6 separate regions of the Homo sapiens genome follow, and all the other regions are linked to region 1. Evidence: promoter capture Hi-C in 16 types of primary human blood cells and fetal thymus (Javierre and others, 2016). All regions are on one chromosome and are shown on one strand. Each heading gives the region's core, a stretch centred on a gene start or on the middle of the fragment in contact. The rest is flanking DNA. Distances are from core to core; before and after follow the strand shown. Region 1 holds the start of PCF11 (PCF11 cleavage and polyadenylation factor subunit). Region 2 holds the start of ENDOD1 (endonuclease domain containing 1). Region 3 holds the start of DCUN1D5 (defective in cullin neddylation 1 domain containing 5). Region 4 holds the start of DYNC2H1 (dynein cytoplasmic 2 heavy chain 1). Region 5 holds the start of MED17 (mediator complex subunit 17). Region 6 holds the start of TAF1D (TATA-box binding protein associated factor, RNA polymerase I subunit D).

Region 1 (4,412 bases), core at 1,759-4,258:
AAGACGGGGTTTTGCCATGTTGGCCAGGCTGGTCTTGAACTCCTGAGCTCAAGCAATCTGCCCTCCTGGGCCTCCCAAAGTGCTGGGATTACAGGCATGAGCCATGGCACCTGGCCTATGTCCTTTCTACTTTTGTGTTTAGTGTCCACATTTCTGTCTTTCTAATGATATAAAAAATTTACATGAGAAGAGTTATTGATTAGATACAACAGAGGTTTCTAAAATTTAAATTAAATTAAAAATTTAATTAATTTATTTTTTGATAATTATTACCACTCCCAGGCTGAGAGATTTTTTTAAAGGAGGAATTAACTCCTCTTGTAAATACTCTGTGAACCAAGGGAAGGGTATAGCTATTTTCCTCAAAAACAATGGAAATGCTTCATATTCTGCAGAAACACAATAATTAGTGGATTTGATTATTGAAAATAGTCCTGGGATACCACTGGTTCCTGGACAAATGTAGTACTTTTTCACATTACTACATGAGGTTATGATTGAGGTATACATTTCATGAAGGTATGGCCAAGGGGCTATCTTGTTCACCACTGCACCTAGCATAGAGATAGGAAATAACCGGGGCTTAATGTTGGTGGAAAGTAAATTCGTTGCATATTCTGATGAAAGAACTGGTAGTGAAAATCCATGAGAGAAGTTTTGTGCACTTATTTGTATTTAAAATTCCAGTTATCTAGTTTGTGCCCTGTCCTGAGTATTTAAAGAAAAAATGTGCTTGTTACAGTACAGCACATGATTTGAATAAGATTGCTAGTCTCTTGAGTTTTCCATGTCATTTGTGGGGACATAAGTTTGTTGATTTATGTGCTAAGATATATTAATTGTTTACTCTGTATATAGTCTGTGAGGGATACAATAAAAGCCAAATCAGAGCTTTGGAGCCTTTTTTTTTTTTTTTTTAGAAGTTCACTTTGCTGTTAAAAGAAAGTTAAAAACTGTAAAAGGCAGACATTTCTATAATGAAATTCACCTTTAAAATGAAAAGAAAATGAACAGAGGACTATTTCACCCTGGTCATTTCCCTCCAGAAAATAAAACCTTTGGACGTTATTAGTTGAAACTTTCTAGTATATCTAAATAGCACCACTAACAATAGTGTGAAATTATTGAGATTATAAATACTTATTTAACAATACTTCTTAGCTTCAAATGAGGGAAGACCAGTTTTCCTCCCCAGGTTTTACTTTTCATTCATGTGTGATATCATGCTAAGAAAAAAATGGAAAATACATGTCAAAACTTAACCTTTGCAGCACACTTTATGCAGTTCATTATGTTTCAATTAGACAACAATAAAGATGCTAAAAAACTCAAAGAAACAAAAAGAAGAAATGAAAATGTTACTTTATATGGGACAAGTAAAGAGTAGTTTGTTTGTTTGTTTGTTTTTTGAGAGAGAGTTTCACTCTGTCGCCCAGGCTGGAGTGCGGTGTTGCGATCTCGGCTCACTGCAACCTCTGCCTCCCGAGTTCAAGTGATCCTGCCTTAGCCTCCCAAGTAGCTGGAATTACAGGCGGCCGCCACCATGCCCGGCTAAGTTTATTTTTTAAGAGCAATTTCTTCTGGGGAGCAACAAATTATCTCTCAAATGCCTAGTAGCCTACGGAAGGCAATGGAAAAGCAATTTTAGGTAATTGACACTTTTTTTTTTTTGAGACAGACTCTCGCTGTCACCAGCCTGGAGTACAGTGGCGTGATCTCGGCTCACTGCAACCTCCACCTCCCGGGTTCAAGCGGTTCTCCTGCCTCTGCCTCCCGAGTAGCTGGGACTACTATAGGCGCACGCCACCACGCCCAGCTAATTTTTGTATTTTTAGTAGAGACGGGGTTTCACCATGTTGGCCAGGGTGGTCTCGATCTCTTGATCTCGTGATCCGCCCGCCTCGGCCTCCCAAAGTGCTGGGATTACAGGCGTGAGCCACCGCGCCCAGCCCGTAATTGACACATTTTAAAAGCTTATATTTAGGTCAATATCGCTACTCAATGAAAAAATTACGTTTGGTTTGTGTTATGTCGCAGCTCCACGGTGAACTATTTGAAAGCTTTGTGTGTTTTACGAGCATCATTTCCAACCTGGGAAGACAGCCCCACAAGTTTAAAACAAAAGTGCATGCGCGTGTGTGTTTTCCTACGTGCCCCAAATAGTGTATGCTAAGGAGGTTCTGAAATGCAGATTCACAGTGGAGATATTACGGTCCAGCTGGGTGTGGCTGTTGTGAAAAACTCTTCCTAGAGCTCATAGTGGGCTCCTTAAAGAGCTCCTCCAAACCCCCAAGGAAAAAGCCTTTCACACTTAATCTCTAAATAAAAGGCATTTTCCTGGGGATTCAAGTCAGGCAAGCTCGCCTAGGTATTTTTGTGGGTGTGGGAAGCGGCGTGCTGGAAGAAACTCTCCAGCAGTGCTTTCCGAAGTTCCGGGTAAATTGGGCACCTCCCTCCCACTTCCCAGTTCCCAGAGGGGCAGCTGGACCCGCCCTGGCTCTCCAGAGCACCTGAGACGCTAAGGGAGAGGGGGTGCGGCGGCAGAAAGCCTCCGCTCCCTCCAACCCCCGCTCCCTCCAACCCCCACCGTCGGTAGCAGCTACGGGGCAGGCGGGAGGAAAGATGATTGACAGGCCCGCTCAGTGGCTGGGAAGCTAGAGGGAGGGACGAAGAGGGGACGGCTGAGTCTTCTTCTCAAAGTGGTTGGGTTGGGCCGCGGGAACTGCCTTCCCAGGCCTATTGGCTTCCCTGAATGGGTTGTTATGGTAACAAATGACCGAACAGTCCCTTATGAATCGGCCAATGAGAAGGGCCGTCTTTTCCAGTGCGCCTCCGAGCAGTAGATGTTGCGAAAGTCCGGGTAGAGGCCGGAGAAGAAGGCGGTGCCAGGGCGTCCTGCGGAAGGGCCGGGGGCGGGGCTCGTGACGTTGCCGGGACAGCCAATCACGCCTGGTTTTATCAGTGGCCCCGCCCTTTTACCGCACATTTCCCCTCCCCTAGTTCATTTCGCACGACGCAGCGGTTGGGAACACAGACATTTTCGGAGCTGGAGCCGCCACTGCCGCCGCCATTTTGTGTCTGTGGAGAAAGAAGCTTCTGTGGCGGCTGGAAGTGGACGGAGATCACCCGCGAGACGGCGGCGTTTCATACCCGAGGTTCCCCCTGTGTCGTCCCCCATCCCCCCTCCGCGGTCAGCATGTGGTGAAGCCGGAGCCGCGAGAGAGCCGGGGAGAGGAAGAGGAGTCGGAAGGGAGGCGGGGTATCCAGAGCGGCTTCAGCTTCAGCTGCAGCGGACCTCGGAGGGGGGCCGCGGCGCAATGTCAGAGCAGACGCCGGCCGAGGCCGGTGCTGCGGGGGCCCGGGAGGACGCCTGTCGGGATTATCAGTCATCGCTCGAAGACCTGACCTTCAATAGCAAGCCGCACATCAATATGCTGACCATTCTAGCCGAGGAGAACCTGCCCTTCGCCAAGGAGATCGTCTCTCTCATCGAGGCCCAAACCGCCAAGGTTTTTATACACCCCGCAGCCTCCTATTACTTCTAATACTCCCTGATTTTAGTGTCAGCCTCATCCCAGGTCTCGCTTCCATCCCAAGGGGGACAGTGTTCCTTCTCTCCAACCCCCCCACCCCCCTCCAACTCAGGCTCGGTCTTTGGCCCAGGCTTCGAGCATGGGCCTCTGGGGGGGAGGGAGTGGGGAGGATAAAGGGTGGAGTCCCACTTCCGCTTTCCAACTCCCTTTTTAGGCCACCGCATTGTATATCCCGACACACACACGCTTTGAATAGAGCCCTTTGGGGTGGGGGAGACTTAAAGGCAGTTTGTGGTTTGGGGAAGTAAGAGTTAACATAAGCCATTTTAATTCCCTGGGAAGTGGGAGAGTGGGTCTCCCATTTTCCCCAAGCACCCTTTTTGGTAATTGTGTTCTGTGGGTTGGAAGGAGGTGAAGGGGGACCTGGGAGCGAGCTGTTGGTGGGTGGGAATAGGGATTTGGCCCCGAGTGGAGCAGCCGCCTGTTAGGAGCCCAACATGGCGCCTGAAAAGCACATGATGCGAAAGGGAAGAGAGGAGAATCCATTCCCTGCCAGCCAGGCAGCTGCTCACTCCCGTCAGCCCCATTTTGGGGTGGGGGCGGCTAGATAAAACTTTTATTCTCCTATTGGAGGGTCTAATTTGTCCCAAAATAGGGGCAAGTGGGGTTGAGGGTGGGGTTTGGGTGGGGGGAGGAGATCTTATCCAACCTGTAGGTGGAGAACTGGCCCAGAGGGTAACAAGTACTTGCAGTTTCTCTGAAAAGTTCAGTCCCTCCTCCTCTTCCTTTTCTCTTTTTCTCCCTTCCCTGATAGCGAAGGAGTGTTTTTCTTTACCCCTTGACAGAAGTGGTCCTCTGCCACCTTATATTTCCCTGTAG
Region 2 (4,490 bases), core at 1,183-3,682, about 12 Mb after region 1:
GGTAGACATCATAAGTCAACATTGGGGAACCCTATATTCAACCTTATAAAATAATGTAAATATTTTTAAAATCCTGTAAAACCTATAATCCTCCCAGCATCCCAGGAGCAGCATTGTCCCTGTGGGAGGACTTGATTGAAGCCTACAAGGATGAGATGACTGAGATACTAGTACCAGATGATCAGGGTCATCATCCAGATCAAAGGGGACTTCAAGTCTAGCCTCTTCTGTGACATCACACTAAATGTGTCCCCTCCTTTTTTTAAAAAAACTAAGATACAAACTTTGGTTTCATTTCTGGGACCAAACATAGTCAACATTTTCCGGAATTAAAACCTGTAAGAAATTTGTTCTTAAGTTCCAATGTATAATCTCTTGAAGAGCTTCCTTCTTTATGGGCTCACCTTACAGATGCGCTGTGAGTTAAAAGAAAAGGCCAGGCTTGGGAAGCAGAGAGACCTGTTTCAAATCTGTCTTAGGACTCACTGGCTGTGCCAGCTTAGGCCAGAATCAACAGGCTCTGGTCTCAGTCCCTGTAGTGGCACACTGGGGAAACAGATGACATCGTAAGATGAGCACAGGCCCTGGCCCTGGGTAGCTGCCTTGACCCTATCTCTGCTGCCACCATCCTACCATCCTGGTCCAAGCTACCATCTCTTATCTGGATTGTGGCAATTATGGGGTGTTTTTCTTTTCTTTTCCTTTTCTTTTTTGAGACAAAGTCTGGCTCTGTTGCCCAGGCTGGAATGCAGTGGCACAATTTTGGCTCACTGCAACCTCCGCCTCCTGGGTTCAAGCGATTCTCCTGCCTCAGCCTCCCAAGCAGCTGGGATTACAGGTGCCCGCCACCACACCCAGCTAATTTTTTTGTGTTTTTAGTAGAGACGGGTTTCACCAAGTTGGCCAGGCTGGTCTCAAACTCCCGACCTCAGGTGATCCGCCTGCCTCAGCCTCCCAAAGTGCTGGGGTTACAGGTGTGAGCCACCCATTTATTCTGTGCCACTTCAATCTACCAGTCTCTTCCCTGATAGCAAAAAGAATCGAGTCACCACCTTTAAAAGATGAAAATCCTCAACATGATTTACAATATTTTTTCCAAACTGCAGGTCATGAGCCATTAGTGGCTCATAGAAACAATTTAGTGGGTCAACACCAGCACTTTTTTAAAAAAGTGAAGTAGAACAGAAATATGAAATTGCAATGCCAATCATAAGCATAAGAATTATTTCATCAAACTTTTCTCATTATGGGCCTTCTCAAAAAGTGTTTGAAGGCCTCTGGCCTATAATAACCTGAGTAATATGACCCCTGCCTCCTCCTTTAGCCCCACTTCCCATCATCCCCCACGCGGTTCTCCGCGCTTTACCCACACTAGCCTTCCTTAAATTCCTCCAATACATCATGTTCCCTTCTGTGGGAGACCACTTAGCACATGGTTTTCCTCCTTGCCTAGTTAATGTCATCCTCCAGGTCTCAGCTCAGATGCCACTTCTTCAGGCAAACCTTCCCGGATTACATCCTGAACCCCTGTAGCTGTCAGGGTCTCACAGATCTGTGTTCAGTTTTTAGTTATCCCTTTAATAGCATGTTTCCTCGGTTAATGACAAACTTTCCCACTAGGCTGTCTTTGTGACCGCAGGAGCCCTGCTCTTGTTTACCCCTGTGGTAATCCAGTGCCTATCTCAGGCTGGCACCTAGGCATTCAGAGGGATAAATGAAGGAAAGAATTGGCCAACCTGTTGACCAATGACGTTGGCTGGCCTCCTTCCTTGCTTGGTATCGGTTTTGTTTCTAACACTTGCACCAAGAAAACCACACAGGGTTATACTGTCTGCCTAGTTTAGGAACTTCCTTTAACAGTATTTCTTTACTCTCTGAGTTTCTGGTGAGCTAAAAAAACATAACAAAAAACAAAAAACTCCATCAAAATTGTATGCGTGTGCTGGTCGTTGAGTACTTCGGTGGAGAGTGGGAGACGCATCTTCATGAAATTTCAGAGGGGAACTCTGCCCATCCACTCCGAACCAGCCGCAGCTCCACGAGCATCTCACGCCACCCCTCTGCATCACCAGGGCGGCCGTGGGGCGCGCGCGATCAGCAGGCTTCTTGGCGCCCAGTCCATGCGACTATCTCTTCCCAGCCCCGGGACTAGGCCCGCCCCACTCGGATTCTCCACTCTTGGTAGCGCGCGTCCCCCGGACTGCTGAGACCAGGCGGCGCGGAGGCAGGTGACCCGCGTCTCCAGTCCCGGGCGCAGCCCAGGGTACGTTGTCAGCATCGCGGAGCGCGGCCCTGGGCCTCTGCAGCCATCTTCAGGGAGGGAGGCGCGGCCTCCCGACGCGGACCCGCCCCCGCCGCCCGGGCCGCCCCGCCCGGCTCCGCAGAGCGCCGCGCCTAGGTTGCGACTTCCCTTCCCTACCCTGCTCGGCTGCGTAGTGCGCTCCCCGCCCAGCCTGCAGAGCTCGCGCCGCGGCAGCCCAGCCGCTCGGCCCCGCCGCGCTCGCAGAGGCCGCCATGGGCACCGCGCGCTGGCTCGCGCTGGGCAGCCTCTTCGCCCTGGCTGGGCTGCTGGAAGGCCGGCTCGTGGGCGAGGAGGAAGCCGGCTTTGGCGAATGTGACAAGTTCTTCTACGCCGGGACCCCGCCTGCGGGGCTGGCGGCCGATTCCCACGTGAAGATCTGTCAGCGCGCGGAGGGTGCTGAGCGCTTCGCCACCCTCTACAGCACCCGGGACCGCATCCCCGTGTACTCCGCGTTCCGCGCCCCGCGCCCTGCGCCCGGCGGCGCCGAGCAGCGATGGCTGGTGGAGCCGCAGGTAAGCGAAGTGGTTCCCGAGCCGGGCTGCGGGCGCCGGAGACCGTGCCGCTGGACATGCCCCCAGTTGCAGCTACCGCGAGGGGCGGGCCGGGAACAGCAATCCCTACGCCTTCGGTGCCTTGGGCCAAGAAACCCGGGTTCCAGGTCCACCCTGTTGCGTCCCCGGAGTTAGCCTGCCTCGCCCCTGTCGAGCTACAATAAGAGCCTGGCGATCTGCGAGCCTTCACTTCATGAGCTGCAGGGCGGGAGGTCCCCTGTGGGAGGAGGTTCTCCCTGCATTTCTGAGCAGACATCCGCAGTGTTTCATTCCTGAATGGTGAAGAGCTTGATACAGAGACCCTGGAGACCGTTCAGATCCGCAGAAAGCCTAGGCTGGGCGCTCACAGGCCTTCGTGCAACTTATTGCCATAGCACTCATTTGGAGGTGGGTAGGTGGGCATTTTCATCCCCATTTTACAGAAGAGGAGATAAACCCAGGGGGTGAAGAGACATATGGAAGACTACCCAGTTAGTAAGATGGGGCAGGTCTCTGTCTAGAAATTCACTGCCTTTTCTACTAAGTAAAGCTTCTCTTCTGCAGAGCTCATCCTAGCCTGAAAATCCTTCCTCTACCACGGCGTTGAGTAAATTCGATCTGCGGTTGTGTTGAATTAGAACAATGAAATAAAGATACAGATTTTTAGAAACGCAATGGGGTAGTTAAAAATGATAGGGAAACATTGACTACCTCCAACTGATGGAAAGATAAGCCAGTTTTTCCTGACTCCTCATATCTATATTATCATACCACTAGGAAATCGTGTCACCTCTCATGGTGTTCTGTCCCGTCTGGTAAAGGTGACCAAACACTTGAGAAGCCCTCAGAGTCTTCCGAACCTGCTGGCCTGCTCTTAATACCTCTCCTCAGTTGGCCTCCTCTCTAGAACACCCTGCCAGACTCCCCTTTGCCCTCTCACCAGCCTCCCACCCCTGCCCAGGCTGCTGGGGGAAGAACTGACCCAACGCTCTCCCTTTCCTGACGGCCACAGCTGCCCAGGACCACACCAGTGGACAGGAGGCTGGCTTTCAGGTGCTTTATTCAGAGCCTGTGGGTTGTAATCTCATTCAGATATTTCTAGCTCTGAGGTCTTGGCCAGGTCTCAAACAATCTGCACCTAGTTTTCTTATCTTCCTCACATCCTTCCACCTACCTCAACTGTTGATAACACTTGTCGAGATCAGGCATGTGAAAAAGACGTTGTCAGTTGCACACACAAGACACATTTAAATCCAAAATTAGTTTTCCACCAGCTGCACCCCTAGAGCTCACAGGGTGTTCCCCACCTCTCATCTTGCATTGTGATTGTGTGCCTGCGAAGAAAACAAATGAGCTAGTTCTTTCCCCTTGATCTCATGGACAGCTTGGGGAGACAGAACATACGTCTGAGGAAATCATGGGAATGGATGCTAAACAAATTTCAGTTAAATTCAGAACACATTTAGTGACTCCTGCTGTGTGCCAGATATTTGGGACCAAGAGATCTGAGTGCAGTTCTGGAACAAAGGCTACCTGATCTGCAGGTGGAGTTTGCTGGGTGGAGAGGTGGTGTAGTATCTGATTAGAGCCATGCTATGTGGGTTCATATCCTAGTTGCTCCACTGACTAGCTATGAACTTGGGCAGGTTAAATTGGAG
Region 3 (4,753 bases), core at 1,095-3,594, about 20 Mb after region 1:
TAGTATAAGTGTTCTTTTGCATATATTTGCTTAACTCTTCAGCCCCATCTCTGGCTGGCTTTGACTTTCGCCTCTAAAACACAACCCCATCCTGGGCCTAGGGCTCTTCATCCACCAGTTACAAGATTTAGCTGAGGTTAAGTTAGCTCCTCTAGAAAACTCCCATGACACTTTAAAAGCTGGGTTATATATCCCTCCTATGAACTCTCACAGTGTATCTTCTGAATATAGTATTTATCACACTGTATTAATATCAGTCTATTTATTTTCTTACTATTGCATCTCTAGTAGAAGTGGATGGCTAAATGATAATTGTTAAAAAGTAAATGTGTTGTACAATTATAACTGAGGGGTTTAAATCTTTTACTATGTCTCCCCAAAAGTTTCAGAAAATGTTAGTTCAGAAAAATTTCAAAAAGAGAATATTGAATAGAAATGTTTTATTATGTACTTTGTGTTTTCCACAATATCAAATACAAAAATGTTTTATTGTGTACCTTTTATTTTCCAGAATACTACTTTAGCCAATAGATGTAAATAAATGAATCTTTGTTTACACGTTTTATTAATAGTAAATGAGTTCTTCCCTCCCAGTAAATATATACCGAATATATATTTAAAGAAATATCAGCCTAAATTGGCAACAAATTTTTAGTCTACCCACAATCTTCAGTCCTGACCCTCATCCCAGTACACAGCACTAACACATAGCAGGCCTGTAACAGATAATTTGTTAAATGAATAAGGCAAATAAACTTTTTAAAGCATATGACTAGTATCTTCTTATATTAATTTCATTACCTGCATATTCATAAAACCAAGCCAGGCACTTCTTGCTTGAAAAATGTTCCTCTCCACTTATTAGTCTAGCAGGGGGTTGGGATCTGCAATAGCTTAGAAAACACACAGACGCCTAAGATTTTTATCACATCTCAACTCTTAGAGAAAAACTAAGTTCAAAATTAACAACTTCCATTCACATTAAACAAAGGTTTTTTTTTTCTTCGGTTGGCATTGTTGGAAAAAAACTGAAGTTGTTAAGTAATTGCAACTTGAAACAGTAGTCTATACATAAGAATTATCGGCTAACAAAACCCAAATACCTTTTCACTCAGTATCAAAATCCAAAAATATCAGTAAGTTATTTCCGCACATTTTAAAAGACTACAAAGAAGTTCAACCTAGTAGGTGGGAAAGTATAAATATTTATTATGATTCTATTGATTTGCATAGAAATTCTATTTGTGTGTAATAGATAAATATTTGAAAACAAACTCTTACAAAGTATATTTTGATACTTAATGAATCAATATTTCAAAATAAAATGTTATATTAAGAGTTGTTTTATCACCTAAGCTTAAATAGATTTTTAAAGATAAATGATGACTTAGGACCTAAGGGTATATTAAATTACACAGATTTAAAAAAAACAACAAAAAAACACTAAAAGTTAATAATAGTCCAAATAATTGGGACAAGGCTATTTAATCCTAGGTTCTGTTCATTCTATTTCATTTTTTTCATAAAATCATTTTCATTGTTTTTCATAAAATAACTAAAATTTGGTAAGTTCAAAATGGCCTCTAGAATTTAATGGCCTTCAGAGAAACTTTTTTCAAGGAACTCAAATAATTACCCTACCACAATGATATAGAAATGATAGAACTTCTGTAACTGAGTAAAGTAAGAGTATCATATTTAAAAATTTAAATTGATAGAGCAAAGTATCACCTGAGTTCTAATAATACTGCCTGCTCAGCTATCTTAATGTACTTAACTTAAATAATTTTAATACATTATATACTTAAGATGGCCATGATATAGTACAAAAATGAATAATAATTTGCCTGTATCTTATAAAAATGTGAGCTACTAAAGTAACCATGTCAAATTCTAATGTTGACAAACAAGAGGTGTATGTATCATCGTTCACATTAATAGCCTAATACTCCATAGACTCCTTTACCAAAACACAGTAATGAGGGAAAAAAGTCGACCAATTACAAAAAAGAAGATGCAGACTATGTAAGTCATCTACCTCACAGTTTAAGCAGATCTCTCTTTAAGGAGAGCTCTATCATTATTTCCTTCTTATAATCCTGGCTACAGTCTCCTTTCAATAGTAGCATCTGAAGTTGTCATATCAAGTGCCAACCATTGATGAAAAGGCAGCTAATATGGTTATTTTTTAAAAAAGCATTTCTCAGTCGGGCGAGGTGGCTCACTCCTGTAATCCCAGCACTTTGGGAGGCCGAGGCGGGCGGATCGCGAGGTCAGGAGTTCAAGACCAGCCTAGTCAACATAGTGAAACCCCGTCTCTACTAAAAATACAAAAAATTAGCAGGGCGTGGTGGCGGGCGCCTATAATCCCAGCTACTCAGGAGGCTGAGGCAGGAGAATCGCTTGAACCCGGGAGGCGGAGGTTGCAGTAAGCGGAGATCGCGCCACTGCACTCCAGCCTGGACAACAGTGGAAGACTCCGTCTCAGAAAAACAAAACAAAACAAAAAAACAAAAAAACCATTTCTCAAACCAAAATTGCAGTTTTTTTGTAGCATAAATTTTGCTGTGATGCCTCCATGATATGCTACAAGGGGATCAAAGAGCTACTACTATATAGTTCTGCCTTGTCTTCTTTCTTACCAGTAGGACAGAGTACAAGAGCTCACAAATTATTTAATTTATGCTGAGAGCTAACAGCGTCCTGAATGCTAGAAGACAAAAAGCATGCAGGGCCTTTCCAACTCTGCACACAGGGACTTGGCATAGGTGAGGCACTATACTTCCAGAAAATGGGGCTCCTGCAATTTAAAAGGCCTCCTGCTGGGACCTTCCGGGTTAGGCCACTCCAAATACTAAATATGGAGGCCAATTATAGCATACAAGTTTTCCTTTCTACCATTCCCAAGACAGTTGTCAAGATTCCTTATGTTCTGCTTTCTTCACACTCTACAAAGAAATTCTAGAAGTGACCCTTCTGCGGATATGTACTCACTTCTAAGTCTAGAAAAAGGCAGAGGAGCGATACGGGAGTAGGGGATCGAGGGTCGGTTGTGGGGTGGGGGTGGGGGTGGGGGGAAGCGCAATTTACATATGCATCTGTTCCCCACCCTGCAGGGCACGTAGACTCTTAACGTGGGCGGCTCTTCTAGTCTCTCCATAAACGCCAGCGTGCACACACTCGAACACGAGGTCGGGTCGGGCGCGGAGACTCGCGGTGTTCGGCACCTACAGCCTAGCTCGATCAAAGGGGCCTCACCTGTCTCCAGCCCCAGCCCGGCAGGCCGGGCCCGACTCCTTTTCCTCCAGTTGTCCAGCAAAGGAGGGAGGAGGGAAGCTTGAAGGGTGGGGGGAGATGGTACCTGGAGATTTTACACTTTTTGAGGCCTCCGTCTTCCGCTACTGCTGCTGCCACCCCAGGGGATTTTCTCTTCTTCTTCACCGGCATCTTCCGCCCTCCCCGGCAGGGTGGGCAGGGGAGCCGGGGAAGGGGGTCCCTGTCCGCTGGAAGCCCCTCAGCGCTGGCACCCAGTTCCCAGAGACAGCAGCAAGCGGAGGAGCAGAGTCGCCAGCCCGCACCGGCGCGGCCCAGCCCGGCCGCCGCCCGCTCCCAGGTATCCTCGTCGTCTTTCTCTGACCGGGACAGGGCTGGCTCCTCGCCGGTGGACACTGCGGTTCGTTCTCACCGGGAGGAGATAACGCGGACAGCGCGGCAGCTCCACCAGTCACAGCAAGCAAGAGGCTCAGCCTAACCCGGAGGCGAATCGCTGAGGCCCGGAAGTGACGCAATCGCGGAGCCGGTCCCGGGAAGGGGCGTGGTTCCGGTTAGCCTCTGCCACTCGTAGGTAGGCCAGGCAGAGCGAAGCTGTCTGACCCGTCGACTGCGGCAGTCCGCGGAATTCTTGTATCCTGTCCAGGGTATCCTGACCTTTCTCATGAAGCTTCTACCGCGCTCTGATGCTGGCAGTCACCGCCAAAAAGTGAAACTACTAATACTTTGCAGTTGACGTTAAAAACAACCTGGTAAAGTAGACCAAGTTCCACTTCTGAGCTCTTCCACACGATAACCTCACCTGAAGTGTTCCCACCCCGTAAATGCATTGTCACCCTGTGTCTTGCGTGTTTTTTTTATGGGCCTGTGATCAGCCACCCACTCCCCCTTCTCCCTACCTTTGCATATCACTTTGTCCTGTATTGAAACTTAGCTCTGCCATTATTTCCACAGAGCTCACCTCTCCGATAAGAGACAGTAGGTGACTGCGACTCAGTAGAGAGAAATTTGGGGGACAGTTCTAAGGAACCTCCCCCTAGACCCAAAACACACTGTAATCTATTCATCTCCACTTAGGTGGAAATACTGTTTTTAAATAATGGTTATTGTATGTAAAGACATAGTAGAAAGTCGTTAGTAATTCTGTTGGTAAAATAATCTCTGCAAACCAACTGTGATGGGAGAAGACTAAAAGTCTTTGAGTAATAGTTGAAGTGGTTCCTGTGAAACTACCCTCACAATGGCACCCTAATCTGGTCAATCCGAATATCATATTTCCTTAGTGTTATTAATTGGTTCAGGATGGACACATACTCAGGCCAGGCCAATGAGTGCCAATGACACAAAATTGAACCACCAGAAAGCAATTTTATTTCCTATGGATTTGAACCAGAGAAGGTATGGAGAATGAAGCCAAAACTCAGAAGAGACTAGTATCAAGCAGAAAAATAGAAAAACCAGGATGTGATTATATGATATGAGC
Region 4 (4,490 bases), core at 252-2,751, about 20 Mb after region 1:
CCTACATGTGTTGCCTTTTTATTTACCATATTGTTATGGAAGCTCAATTCAGCCATTTCATACATTTCCACCAAAACAACTCACCAAACCGAGCACTTGTGGGTAATGGAGACTTTCCTGAAGACCTTGGTAAGAGTGATAATGCTCATTGCAGAGCAGGAAACTCTGTAACCATAGTGGTCACTTTGGCTTTCAAAATCTTTTTATTAGCTACACAGTCATCTTGGGTTCCTGTTAGGATTTTTTCCCTCACCCAGTGGTCAGCATCCCACCTCACTGTTTGGATGTTTTCCCATCCAGTGGCCAGACTCCCATCTCTCACTGTTTGGATATTTCATGAGAATTTACATTCATTTCCTTTTATAATTTAGAGCAGTTCAGCTTTTTTAAGTTCCCACTCCAAAATCTTAAGTTGCTCAGCAAATAAAAGGACTCTCTCCTTCCAATTCTCAAATAGTATAGTTTTAAGGGGAGGTTATGATTATTAAGTGCAAACAAAAAAAATCTGCATATGTTTGTGTACCCTAGGATCTTGGGTCAAACCAGTGCTGAGGTGATGAATGACTACAGCAAAAACTTCCTGAGGGCAGGAACTGTGTCCCCAGGGCCTAGTTCGGTACTTGGCAAATTGTGTTAGATTGGTGCAAAAGTAATTACAGTTCTTGCCAAAAAACCGCAATTACGTTTGCACCAACCTAATAGCATGTAGTAAATATTTTTAGAAGAGAATTACTGAATTGAGAAAGTGTTTGACGAATGTTCGGATGAATGACCAGCAATTTAGTAGTTTATAGTAATGCCATGAAGTAGAAAATGACAAAGACCGTTTTCATATCTGTATTTTCACAGAATTTGGTTGCGGTTGTTATAAAATAAACTAAAAAGTATCATTTTACATTTTAGCTATTTTACAAATATGGTTGTGCTCGGGTAATGATTGCAATAAAAAATTGCTGGTTAAATTATTCTAAAATTAATAATAGAAAAAACGATGTTGGGAAATGCAGCAGCACAGAAAGGAGCAGAGGGCGACTGAGAAAGTAAATTAACATTGTATTGAATTCCTAGTCTTTATAAGCTTCTCTAAAAAGCGATTTTTAAATAGTAATCTTTTACAATCCGCACTACACCCCTGGTTGTGAGATAGTATTTCCCCTTCTTAACAGATGTGTACCTTGACGCTGACAGACTGGTTTGCTACCAGGTGCACGTGGAGAGCGAGCACTGGAACCCAGCTCTCCTAAATCTAGATCACGCTGCTGTACTTGAAGGCTAGATGTCTCTCTTCTGATTATGCGTGATAAGAAATCAGTAAGAAGAATAAAAGACATGTTTGAGAGCCAACATAAACTTGTCCGAACCCCTTACAATCGATGACCGCAGGGAGCCGCTGAAGAGCTCCGAGGCGGTCGATAGCCTCCGCGAGCTTTGCGTGCGCGTGCCCCGAGAGGGCAACGCCCACCGCGCGCCGCCAGCGACGCCGCCGTAGTGCTCCGTCGCCATAGCGACTACCCCTGGCAACCGCGAAGCTCTGCGGTCCCGCGGTCGGGCTACGGGTTTGAGCAAAGCTCCTCTCTTCCCTTCACTTCCCTCCGGACTGGTTTCTTCTTCCTTCCCCCTTCCCCCAACTTCCCTCCACCCCTTCCAATCATGGCGAACGGGACTGCGGACGTTCGGAAGCTCTTCATCTTCACTACTACCCAGAATTACTTCGGGTTGATGTCTGAACTCTGGGATCAGCCACTGTTGTGCAACTGTCTTGAAATCAACAACTTCTTGGATGACGGCAACCAGATGCTCCTCAGGGTGCAGCGATCCGACGCAGGAATCTCCTTTTCCAACACGGTACGGTTCCTTGCACTCCTGCCTGACCCCTGACCACTCTTCAAGTCCCCAGGCCCAGCCAGAGGGACGTCGGGTCACACTCTTTAGCTTTACCAACCAGATCCTTTTCAGGAACCCAAGGCTGTCTCCACTTCTCCTGCATTATTGGCTTAGATGCGTTGGCCTCGTGCTTAAGCAGGTAGTTTCCAAGCTTTGCATCCTACCTGACCGAAGCATGTTTCCCTTCCATACATCTGAATAGAAGCAATTAGATTGTGTTTTATTTTAAATTTTTATACGGAGTTTCGTTCTGTCGCTTAGGCTGGATGGAGTGTAGTGGCGCGATCTCTGCTCACTGCGTCCTCCACCTCCTGAGTTCAAGCGATTCTCGTGCCTCAGCCTCCCGAGTAGCAGGCGCGCGCCGCCACGCCTGGCTAATTTTTGTATTTTCAGTAGAGACGGGGGTTTCACCACGTTGGCCATGTGGGTCTCCATCTCCTGACCTCAAGTGATCCGGCCTCCCAAAGTGCTGGGATTGCAAGCATGAGCCACCGCGCCCGGCCTATATTCTACTTTTTAAGAAAGACTGCAGATACGTTATAACTAAAAAGAAAACATTTACTTAGTTATTTTTATTTTTTTCTCTCCCCTTTTTGAGTTTTTTTTTTGGGGGGAAGGCAAATTCTAGTCTATCTTTTTTGGATCAGGCTCTGATTTTAACATTGCCCAAGGGAAAGATTAGTTAGGAATTTAAATTTTTGTGAAATGATATATTTCAAAATAAAGTTTGAATTCTTTTTTGGTGTACATCATGTGATATACTGATTTATTAATTGCACTGCTCCCTCCACTGGCAGGATTGCTTAAAAAATGGGTTGCATTTGCAATCAGGGCTTATATATATAAGCCTAAAAGAAAAACACAGAAGAAAATTGCCTGACACATTAAAGGGGACTCAGTAAATAGATTTAAGTTAATAAAACAAAGACATATTTTAAACCTCTTCCTTTGGTGTTCACCCTTATCCCTAGGTCTAGCAGAGTTTTTGACACTCAGCAAAAACATTCAGTGCCTTTTTTTTTTTTTTTAGACGCAGTTCGCAGTTTCGCTCGTATTACCCAGGCTGGAGTGCAATGGCACAATCTTGGCTCACTGCAACCTCTGCCTCCCGGGTTCAAGCGATTCTCCTGCCACAGCCTCCCAAGTAGCTGGGATTACAGGGCATGTGCCACCACACCCAGCTAATTTTTTGCAATTAGTAGAAATGGGGTTTCACCATGTTGGTCAGGCTGGTCTCGAACTCCTGACCTCAGGTGATCCACCCGCCTTGGCCTCCCAAAGTGCTGGGATTACAGGTGTGTGCCACCGTGCCTGGCTTCAGTGCATTTTTATAGGATGATTGAATCATTCACCCTATTCACTATCTTTATTCTTAGGTTTAATTCGATTGTATTTAATAAACATTTACTTTGAACTCAGTACATGCAAGGCACTTTGCCAGGCATGATGGGTTTACAAAGATATAAAAAGGATGGATAATCATAGCTAACATTTATTTTCACTTTAGACTCTGTCAAGCACTGTTCTAAGTACTTTATATGTATTCGTTCATTTAATAGCCATAACGACATTGTAAGATAGGAACTATTCTTTTTCTTATTTTATGGCTGAGGAAAGTAAGGGACAAAATTTACAACCTAAATGTTAACTTTTCTTTTTCTCCAATAGGTAGCGTAGTTCAGGATAGAGCCCCCTGCTTTCTGCCTTTCCTAGACTCACTCCAGTGGCTTAGGATGACATATACTCAGCAAATGATAAAATCAGGACACACTGTTGTAAATGCCACTGAAAGTTCGGATAGAATGCAGTAGGAAAGATGGAAAGGGGTTTGGATTCGTGAAAGTGTATCTTGGCTTGGGTATTTGAAAGTTGAAGGTAGAACTTTTTTTTTTTAAGTTAAAGCTATTACTAGTAAAGCCCAACGATGTATCTGTTATTTTTAGTTGTACACTTCGCTACAGGTTTTTAGTCATATTTGAAAATATTTTGTTATGTCTTCAGTTGTACTTTAGTTGCCTGATAGTTAGCGTGATTCAATAAGTTAATAAGTCAGCAAATATTTATTGCCTACCTACTAGTACTGGGGACAAAGCCATGAACACAGAGTCCGTATCTTAAAGGAGTAACATTGGAATGGACAAAGGTAGGCTAAACGCATGCTACAGATATATGTAACATAATTTTGGGTATTGATAAGTGCCGTTAAGATAAAAATAATGTTATAGTAGTGATGGGGCAGCGTGGGGAACTAAAGATATATAGGGTGGGAGATAATCCCTCTCTGGATTAGTTATCTTTGAAGCGAGATTTGAATGATGAGTTGCAGGCAGGCATAACCTGGGGGAAGAGTGTTCTAAGCAAAAGAAACTGTAAGTACCAAGGCCCTGAGCTGGGTTTTAACTTAGTTTCCAGGGGCAAGAAAAAAAATCCAGAGTGATTGCTGGAGTTTATGGTATGAAGGAACATTGTGGTAGATGAGAAAGGAGAATAAGGCACAGGCTGATCATTTAGGACACTGTATACCATTTAAATTGAAATAGGAAGTTATTGGTAATCTTAAGCAAGAGAGAGCTGTGATCTGGTTTATGCTTTAGGACAGAGGTTGG
Region 5 (4,593 bases), core at 1,764-4,263, about 11 Mb after region 1:
CCTGCCCAGTTTTGCTCCGAAAGACTTACCGAGGAGGGAGCTTGCGGTGCGTTCTGGGAAAGTTGCTGGGCCAGCTCCTTTGTTTCCAGTCTGAGCGTTGCGTTCGGTTTCCCGAGGGTCTTCTGAGGCACCGCGGCTGCGGGCTTCTGAGTTCCCGGCTCTCCGCAGGGAAGCCTCCTCTTCGTACCTCGTTTTTTGGCTCGTGGGGGGTCCTCCCACCGCTGGCCGACGCAGCCAGCATGTCCGGGGTGCGCGCAGTGCGGATCAGCATCGAATCGGCCTGCGAGAAGCAGGTCCATGAGGTGGGCCTGGATGGCACCGAGACGTACCTGCCCCCGCTGTCCATGTCGCAGAATCTGGCGCGTCTGGCCCAGCGGATAGACTTCAGCCAGGGTTCGGGCTCCGAGGAGGAGGAGGCGGCGGGGACCGAGGGCGACGCGCAGGAGTGGCCGGGCGCCGGGTCCAGCGCAGACCAGGACGACGAGGAAGGTAAGGCCTGCATCCGCTGCCCGAGTCCCCCGGTCTGGGTCCCAGCACCCGCGCGGGCCTCCGCCTCTCCCGCGATGGGGGTGATCTTGTGCGTGCGAGAACTTTTGAGTGTCCCTCTAGCGGAAGCGTAAGGATACTTGGTCGTCATCTTTTTGTTGCTGCCGGACAAGGTAGGACACGACTTTACGTAATACTCCTGCGGGTCTCCTTGAATGGCAGCGTTTAGAGACACTGTCAAACCGTGAAATGTTTAAATGAATGCTTCTCTGTAGAGGGCCTTTAATGTAGCACACTTAGTGGCTAAAAGAGCCCTAGATCGGGGCTCTGCCCCTTGCCGGCTGTGTGACCTTGGGCGAGTTACTTTGCATCCTTGTGCGGTGTGAATGATGATAGTAGCACCTGCAGAAAAGAGGTCTGTTTTGACTGAAATGTGTGACGAGGTCCAAGAGGTAGGCGGGTCCAGATCATGTAGAACCCAGTAGGCCGGGATAAGCGTTTGACTAGTGTTAAGACCACTGAAAGCTTTTGCAGGATAAGTAGAGATGGTTTTGTTAAAGTTTACTCTAGATGCTTTCTAATAAATGAATTATAGGGAAAGCAAAACTGGAAGGGAGGAGACTAGGAGGGAAGTGAAGAAATAATGAGTGGGTTTCAGATTCTCATTATTGTCAAGGATTTTTGAAAAAAAAATCAAAATTCTTAATTTAGTTATGCAGCACACCCAGTGTAAATGGGAATTTAAAGATGTCATTTCAGGGCAGTGCTGTTAGGATTATTAGGGGTCTATTTGCAAAAAAAGGTAAATACTACTTTATACCTCACACAAAAATTATTTCCACAGTAATTTTTGAGGATTGAAGTGCCAAATGAAGAAAGTAAAACAAAGTGTTAGAAGAAATAATGAAAGAATAGTTGTATTATTCTGGGAGTCGGATAGATCTTCTTAATTTCGGAAATAACAGGACAGGCATGGTGGCTCACACCTGTAGTTCCAACATTTTTGGAGGCCAAGGTGGAAGGATCACTTGAGCCCAGACTTCAAGACCAGCCTGAGCAACATAGGGAGCTCCTGCCTCTACAAATTAAAAAAATTAGCTGGGCGTGGTGGTGCACGTCTGTGGTCCCAGCTACTGGGGAGGCTGAGGGAGGAGGATGGATTCAGCCAGTGAGATCAAGGCTGCAGTGAGCTATGATTGTGCCACCGCACTCCAGCCTGGGTAACAGAACAAGACTCTAACATCCACACACACAACCACACACCTACCTACCTTACAAAGTATAGATATATTACTTACATAAAATTTAAAAATAATGGGAAAAGATGCCATAAGCAAAGTAAAAAGATAAATGACAGACTGGGAGAAGTTCTACACATATAACACAAATTTAGTTGATATCTTCTCTATTCAAAAAGTCCCTTCAGACTGAAAAGAAAATAATGACACTTTGGAAAAATAGGCCAAAGGTATCTGAAGGCTCATAGAGGAGAGACTTCAGATACCAATAAACAGAACATAGACTCAATCTCATTACTAGGGACTGGGAAATTAAAACATGATTAAGATACTCTTTCCATGCACAAAATTGACAGAAATTGAAAAGATTGTTAATATTCAGGGTTAGGAATGTGAACTGGTAGTGATTCTGAAAGACAATTTGGCAGTTTAATATGTGCCAACATTTAATTTTAACTTTTTTTGGTTTGTTTTGTTTTTTTTTTTGAGATGGAGTCTTGCTCTGTCGGCCAGGCTGGAGTGCAGTGGTGCAATCTCGGCTCACTGCAACCCCTGCCTCCTGGATTCAAAACGATTCTCCCACTTCAGCTTCCCTAGTATGTGGGACTGTAGGCGTGCGGCACCATGCCTGGCTAATTTTTGTATTTTTAGTAGAGATAGAGTTTCACCATGTTGGCCAGGCTGGTCTTAAATACCTGATGTCAGGTGATCCACCCTGCCTCGGCCTCCCAAAGTGCTGGGATTACAGGCCTGAGCCACTGCACCCAGCCGAAACTTTTAAATGTATATCTCCTTTGATTCACTATTACCACGACTAAAAATTTAACCTGCAGAAAAAGTTGCACATATACAGGGTATATATTCAAGATGTTTACCACTGCTAGCATTGTTGGAAGCAGTTTACTTGTTGGAAGCAATCTACATGTCCGTTAAATACAAGTGGTTAAACATACCGTACATCCATGTTCCAGAATATCATACAGTGTTAGAAGAATTAAGTAGACTCATAAGTACTAACATGGAAGTGTCTCTAGGAAATATTAAGTGGGGGCGGGGGAAAGGCAAGTAATAGAAAATTGGAAATAGATGTATGTAAGTGCATAGAAAAACCTTTGAAAGGGTACACTCACTGGGGCCGGGCGCAGTGGCTCACGTCTGTAATCCCAGCACTTTCGGAGGCCGGGGCAGGCAGATCACGAGGTCAGGAGATCAAGACCATCCTGACTAACATGGTGAAACCCCGTCTCTACTAAAAATACAAAAAATTAGCTGGGCGTGGTGGTGGGTGCTTGTAGTCCCAGCTACTGGGGAGGCTGAGGCAGGAGAATGGCATGAATCCGGGAGGTGGAGCTTGCAGTGAGCTGAGATCGCGCTACTGCACTCCAGCCTGGGTGACAGAGCAAGACTTTGTCTCAAAAAGAAAAAAAAAAGAAAAGAAAGGCTACGCTCCATCTGTTAATAGTGGTTACCTCTCAGGAGGGGAGAGAATCGGGTGGGGAATGAAGGAAAACTTTCACTTTTTACCCTCTAATTCTTTATTGTGTGAACTCTATATAGTGAATGTTCATGTATTTAATCACAATACTTTTTTTAATGGTTAAAAGGAAGATATGCTAATAGTGGCTGGCTTACAGGTCATTTTCATTTTGTACTTTTCTGTATTTTGGAAATTTTGTACAATTGTAAATTCAAGTTCTAAACACTGTAAGAAGATTATTAAAAAGGTTTACATAAATTTGAAAAGAGATTTGAGTCTATAATGTTGTAATGATAAATTTAACCTGTGGAAATAGATGTCATATTCATTTTGCGATTGTAGGAATGCTAATGTGAATGTTAACAAAGTTTTAAGAAACGGTAGAGGAGATGGCATAAATAAGAGAACAATTTGAAATTTAATTAATTATTTCTCCTTTTAGTACTTTTTAAACCTAAGTGAGCTGTCTGCCATTCAATGTAACGAATACTTCTGTATTTCTTTTTTTTCTCTCTCTCTTTTTAGGAGTGGTAAAATTTCAGCCTTCCCTTTGGCCTTGGGACTCAGTGAGGAACAATTTGAGAAGTGCCCTGACAGAGATGTGTGTTCTCTATGATGTTCTCAGTATTGTTAGGGATAAAAAATTTATGACTCTTGATCCTGTCTCTCAGGATGCACTTCCTCCAAAACAGGTATTTGTGGACTTTAATTGAATAATAAAATTTTATTTATTAAATCCCAGGACCCTTTTTTGGCTTTGTGCCTGTTGTTCCATTTTCCTTTCTTGCAAAATTAAGTCCAGATGAAGATTTAAAGACTAACTGGTCTAAAACAAAGCCATACAACTGCATTTCCTTTATTTTTTTATTATATACCTATGATCCTTGGAAGAGTTAAGTTTCATTAAGAATGTAATACCTTTAAGGCCAGGCGTGGTGGCTCACGCCTGTAATCCCAGCACTTTGGGAGGCCAAGGCGGGCAGATCACGAGGTCAGGAGATCGAGACCATCCTGGCTAATGCTGTGAAACCTTGTCTCTATTAAAAATAACAAAAATAAGCCAGGCGTGGTGGTGGGCACCTGTAGTCCCAGCTACTCAGAAGGCTGAGGCAGGAGAATTGCTTGAGCCTGGGAGGCGGGGGTTGCAGTGAGCTGAGATCGCGCCACTGCACTCCAGCCTGGGCGACAGAGCGAGATTCCATCCCAAAAAAAAAAAAAAAAAGAATGTAATACTTTAAAGGTTACCAAATCTTAACAAATTCTTATAGCCTGGGTCCTTGGTCTGTGATATATTACACAAAAATGTGATGATATAATGGCTTTGGAATCAGGTAGACCTGGATTCGAATCCTGCCTCTGCCTTCATTAACTGTGTGACCTTAAATTAAGCAA
Region 6 (4,468 bases), core at 1,551-4,050, about 11 Mb after region 1:
AGCTCTTATTAAAGAGTTTTGTAGACATCGTCTTGCTGTCACCCAGACTGGAGTGCAGTGGTGCAATCACAGCTCACTGCAACCTCAAACTCCTGGAAACTCCAGGGATGCTCCTGCCTCAGCCTCCCAAGTAGCTAGCTAGGACTAATGGCATGCACCACTATGCTCAGCTTACAAAAAAACTGTATCTTTCAAGACAATGTATGAGCTCCAAAAGGCTGTATGGTTCGGTTCACTGCTAAGAGTGTCTGAGTAAAACAAACACAGCCTACCGAACCGGAGGATGTAGTCTGGAAGAGATGCTAATATGACCCAAAGAATACATTTTTTCTCGACGAATGTGTCCCATAATATATTCACATTTTGAATTTAAAGTATTTGCAATGCTATTATATCAATCTATGTAACTAGATAAACTTGGAAGGTCAGTGAAATCTAGTTTTCCTTCTTTCCCAATTCCTGAAAATTATCTTTACTGTCACTCATTATATACAATAGTTTCTCATAATTCAGATACAATAAACATGATTGAATCCACTCACCTTCGATTTGCAAGTTCCACAGCATCAGATGTCACATGGTCAAGAGAATCTATTCCTGATTTATCCATCAATTGCTCTTTGTTTTAAACAGTTTTCTGAAATTATGAAATTTAGTAAATATGACAAAGCTTCCCTAAATATTGACAGTATCTACTACAGTGTTGAACGTGGTCAGACTATGCCAATGATTTCAGGCGAAATCATTTACCAAGGTTAAGCTTCTTATCCATTTCAGATCAGTTTCTTTAAAAAGAAATCCAGAAATTCTATTCACAGGTTCTTTCAGTTGTTACCCTCTAAATGTATTCAACGCAACAAGATTCCAAAAAAGTACCGTCCCTTCCAACAAAAGCATCTTTCAATATAAGTAAAAAATGTAGTTTTATCATTAGCCACATATTTTAACGTACAATTACCAATACAGTATTAATGTACAATTAAAAGCCGTTTTCCAAGATCAAAGGGGGAATTCCTAAAGCAAAGTGTGCCCTATATAAACCAGGAAAAGGATCTCCAATCAATAAACCATTTTAAACTCCTAATCACCTCTCCATTATAATTCCTAGATTCTTCATTCCTAGATTCATTTAAGCAACTGAACTTTGTCATATTGTATCTTTGCCATTATTGGTGGAAACTGACAAGTTCTGAATTCTCAACCTTTTTCAATGAACTATCATAATTCTTGTGTCTTCATCCCCATGGTAGAGAGTATACAACATACCAAAAAAAAAAAAAAAAAAAAAGAAAAAGATTCCTTCTTGTGAGCTAAAAGAAAAAAGAAAAACAGGTTGGTCTGGGTGGCTCAGGCCTGTGTAACACAGCACTTTGGGAGGTCGAGGCGGGCGGATCGCTTGAGCCCAGGAGCTCAAGACCAACCTGGGCAACGTGGTGAAACTCCGTCTCTACAAAAAATACGGAAATTAGCCAGAATAGTGGCGCGCGCCTGTGGTCAGGAGGCTGGGGTAGGTGGAATACCTGAGCCTGGGAGGTGGAGCTTGTATGTAGTGAGCCTCAGCAACACAAGGAGACCCTTGTCTCTACAAAAAATTCTTAAAATACTGGCTAGGTGTGTTGGCCCGTGCCTTTGCTCCCAGCCACTCGGGAGGATCGCTTAAGCCGCGGTGGAGGTTGCTGTTAGCCGAGATTGCACCACTGCACTCCAGCCTGGACGACAGAGCAAGACCCTGTCTCAGGAAAAAAAAAAAAAAAAAAAAAAAAAAAAAAAAAGGCATGGCAACAAAAATTAAAGATAACTACTTATTTCATTATTGTACATGCCTTAGTCAATCTCTTGTCTCATTCTGTAGCTTCTTGGGACCTGACATGAGTCATTACATATAAATCCTAGGATGAACTAGCAAAATATTTAAAATATGAAACGATAAGGTCACCAAGAGCTCAGATTTGTTAAATGCCCCCTGTGGTATTTTCCTGGTACAAGGTCTTACTAGTTTTTTTAAGTACAAGATTCTACAAAGTCATTAAATATCGAATGCTCAAAAACGGAATTCAACAAAAATTTGCCCCCATGCTTTAACGGTATACCTGTAGTTAATTTTTTTTAAAAGTAGGGATTATCAAAATAAAGCTAGCTCAATAATCACTTTTTCGAAGTGTTTAGAAGACACTCCTACTTGGGTGTCGATGCCTCCGTGGGGATTCTGCAATTCTTAGAGGCCACGTGGGCAGAGAGCGGCGCTTTACCCGGAGCTAACGCTGTGACCACCAGCGCCTCTCACCCGGCAGCGCCTAACCTGCAGAAAACCGGCGCGAGTAATGGGTACCTCACATACGAAGGTTAAATCATTTAAATCACGTAATAAGGTTAAACTTGTCCGCAACACGATTTAACACCTCCATCTCAAGATATAATGAAGCCCGTCCACACTACAACCACGTTTGTGTGGGACTCATACCAGCCGCGTGGCGCGGAGTGGCCTGCGGCCGTGATCCCTTCACCCTCTCGGACCGACTTCGGAGTCTCGATCCTCCGGACCAACGAAGGGGCCCCGGGAAACCCCAGATATGCAACGCCTCCCCCGCCCGCCAGGCCCGGACGGCCTCGCCCTCTTAGCAACCTACCTAAAACGGCCTCGCAGTGGCCCCAACCGCGCACTTGCTGCTTGTAACCCAGGCCTCGGCCCAAAACCCGCGACTGGCCTGGTGTCCTAGAGCTCTGTACACACCACCCTCCCGACCTCAGCCCTCCAACTCCCGATAACCAGCCGACCTCCTCCAACCGTGCGGAAGAAAAGGGTTGGCTATTTCCGTGGCCCAAGTAATAGTCAGGCCGAAATCTCGCGATACAACTTAGCTTCCGGGAAGAAGGCGAGCGGTGGGAGGAGACGCGACGTGGGGGCGCCATTTTTCTCGCCGCGCAGGGAGGACTGACTAACGTGGGCGGAGCTCTAGCTCGCGTATTCTGAGGAGGCGGGGTTGGCCTAGGCGAAGATCCGGACTCTGGGTGTTTTGCTACCGTGACCGTTTAGGTGAGTGGAATAGCCAAGAACATTTCGGCAAATAACAAAAACAAAACGTGCGGTCACTTGTGAGTGGATGAGAACTGTGAGGAAACAGCCTCTCAGCCCGGTTCGTTTCCGGTGGTCTCGCGTTTGCTGAGCTGTCGCCTGGCTTTCTAAATCTGGTCCCGGGTGTGTGGCGAGGGTGACGGGTGGGATGTGTGCCTGAGTGTTTTGTAATCCTTTGTCTATTTCTGCCTTCAGAAACCCTTGTGTGTTAAAATATTGGAGAAGGCTCATTCTTTGACCATGACTCGAAGTGTGTAACCTTTGTGCTGGACGCCAGTGTTATTCCATAGCACGCCCAGGTCTCCTCCCCACTTTTGCACCTGTTTCGTAAGCTCACCCTTTCTGCCTCCCAGGAGTTGGCTAACATGTCACAAGTGAGACCTGTGGAGGATTTGTTTTTCCTAAGTTTCCTCCTACATCCCCCCTGCCCCACACCATTAGTTCCTTGACCGGTTCCTGAGTTAAGATTAAACAGTGTAAACTAGTTTAGTTTTGGTGGGGTTTTTTTCTCCCAAAGTAATTTTTTTTTTTTTGAGACCGAGTTTCGCTCTTGTTGCCCAGGCTGGAGTGCAACGGTGCGATCTTGGCTCACCGCAACATCTGCTTCCCGGGTTCAAGCGATTCTCCTGCCTCAGTCTCCCCAGTAGCTGAGATTACAGGCGTGCGCCACCATGCCCAGCTAATTTTTGCATTTTTAGTAGAGGCGGGGGTTTCTCCATGTTGGTCAGGCTGGTCTCAAACTCCCGACCTCAGGTGATCCTCCCGCCTCGGCCTCCCAAAGTAATTTTAAAAAGGAATGAACTGGTTTGATTTTTCCGCTTTCAAAATTCTGTTTTCATATGATAAACCACAAAAATCAGTAAAGCTGTCTAGTCTTATTTTATAGTTCACATTTTAGGATTGAACGGGCCTTAAAAGTAATCTGGTCTCTTTACCTGCTTTGCTCCATAGTTTGGACAATTCCGGGGATAAAAAGTCCGATCCTTTAGGCAGCCCACTGCATTTGATCCACAGGGTCTGGGCAATGACGAAGCTCCAGGACTGGTATGGCATGTCCCTCACTGCCGTATTCAGCAGCAAGCCTAGCTGTGTAATTTGTGAGGCTCAATGCAAAATGAAAATGCAGCGTCCCTTGTTCAAAAAGAAGGGGAAAAGTGCTATTAAAGGGAAGGAACATTTAACTCCTAATGCAGAATCATTGAAATTTCACATTTCATTTTGTATTTTTTCTTTTTTCTTTTTTTTTTTAGAAACAGAGTCTCGCTCTGTCGCCCAGGCTGGAGTGCAGTGTGGCCCGATCTCAGCTCACTGCAACCCCCACCTCCCGGGCTCAAGAGATCCACCCACCTCAGCTTCCCAAGTAGCTGGGACTACACGCGCCCGCCACCACAACCG

Evidence for each region. Contacts are between HindIII fragments. The CHiCAGO score rates a contact against its expected background, and 5 or more counts as called.
Region 2: a contact is called between the fragment with the promoter of ENDOD1 here and the fragment with the promoter of PCF11 in region 1, in 1 of 17 cell types (non-activated CD4 T cells). The highest score is 5.5, in non-activated CD4 T cells.
Region 3: a fragment that was not itself captured here is called in contact with the fragment with the promoter of PCF11 in region 1 in 1 of 17 cell types (fetal thymus); the score reaches 5.9 in fetal thymus.
Region 4: a contact is called between the fragment with the promoter of DYNC2H1 here and the fragment with the promoter of PCF11 in region 1, in 3 of 17 cell types (fetal thymus, non-activated CD4 T cells and naive CD8 T cells). The highest score is 11.3, in fetal thymus.
Region 5: a contact is called between a fragment that was not itself captured here and the fragment with the promoter of PCF11 in region 1, in 1 of 17 cell types (fetal thymus). The highest score is 10.5, in fetal thymus.
Region 6: the fragment with the promoter of TAF1D here is called in contact with the fragment with the promoter of PCF11 in region 1 in 2 of 17 cell types (activated CD4 T cells and monocytes); the score reaches 7.1 in activated CD4 T cells.

Annotation. Positions count from the first base shown.
Region 1 is chr11:83,154,123-83,158,534 of GRCh38, forward strand. It overlaps PCF11 (PCF11 cleavage and polyadenylation factor subunit), which reads left to right and starts at 3,009. Exons shown (of 16, transcript NM_001346413.3): 1 at 3,009-3,509. The coding sequence starts at 3,318. RefSeq lists silencers at 2,585-2,664, 4,115-4,174 and enhancers at 2,865-2,914, 2,979-3,768, 3,065-3,314. The HindIII fragment of the contact is 1,033 bases long and covers 2,059-3,091 here.
Region 2 is chr11:95,087,414-95,091,903 of GRCh38, forward strand. It overlaps ENDOD1 (endonuclease domain containing 1), which reads left to right and starts at 2,433. Exons shown (of 2, transcript NM_015036.3): 1 at 2,433-2,814. The coding sequence starts at 2,515. RefSeq lists enhancers at 1,835-2,114, 2,185-2,244 and a silencer at 2,255-2,684. The HindIII fragment of the contact is 8,670 bases long and covers 1-3,380 here.
Region 3 is chr11:103,088,426-103,093,178 of GRCh38, forward strand. DCUN1D5 (defective in cullin neddylation 1 domain containing 5) reads right to left here and starts at 3,735. Exons shown (of 8, transcript NM_032299.4): 1 at 3,362-3,735; 2 at 802-893. The coding sequence starts at 3,447. RefSeq lists enhancers at 2,855-3,472, 3,473-4,090, 4,020-4,069, 4,140-4,189 and a silencer at 3,035-3,329. The HindIII fragment of the contact is 1,980 bases long and covers 1,355-3,334 here.
Region 4 is chr11:103,107,925-103,112,414 of GRCh38, forward strand. DYNC2H1 (dynein cytoplasmic 2 heavy chain 1) reads left to right here and starts at 1,502. Exons shown (of 89, transcript NM_001377.3): 1 at 1,502-1,845. The coding sequence starts at 1,651. RefSeq lists enhancers at 1,095-1,214, 1,285-1,334. The HindIII fragment of the contact is 957 bases long and covers 1,077-2,033 here.
Region 5 is chr11:93,784,275-93,788,867 of GRCh38, forward strand. MED17 (mediator complex subunit 17) reads left to right here and starts at 8. Exons shown (of 12, transcript NM_004268.5): 1 at 8-489; 2 at 3,727-3,893. The coding sequence starts at 240. RefSeq lists enhancers at 1-123, 65-284, 2,293-2,792 and silencers at 415-544, 546-740. The HindIII fragment of the contact is 4,008 bases long and covers 1,010-4,593 here.
Region 6 is chr11:93,738,695-93,743,162 of GRCh38, forward strand. TAF1D (TATA-box binding protein associated factor, RNA polymerase I subunit D) reads right to left here and starts at 2,801. Exons shown (of 6, transcript NM_024116.4): 1 at 2,628-2,801; 2 at 543-637. The coding sequence starts at 610. C11orf54 (chromosome 11 open reading frame 54) reads left to right here and starts at 2,978. Exons shown (of 9, transcript NM_001286069.2): 1 at 2,978-3,034. RefSeq lists enhancers at 1-423, 2,461-2,970, 3,099-3,784, 3,551-3,670, 4,191-4,468. The HindIII fragment of the contact is 24,379 bases long and covers 759-4,468 here.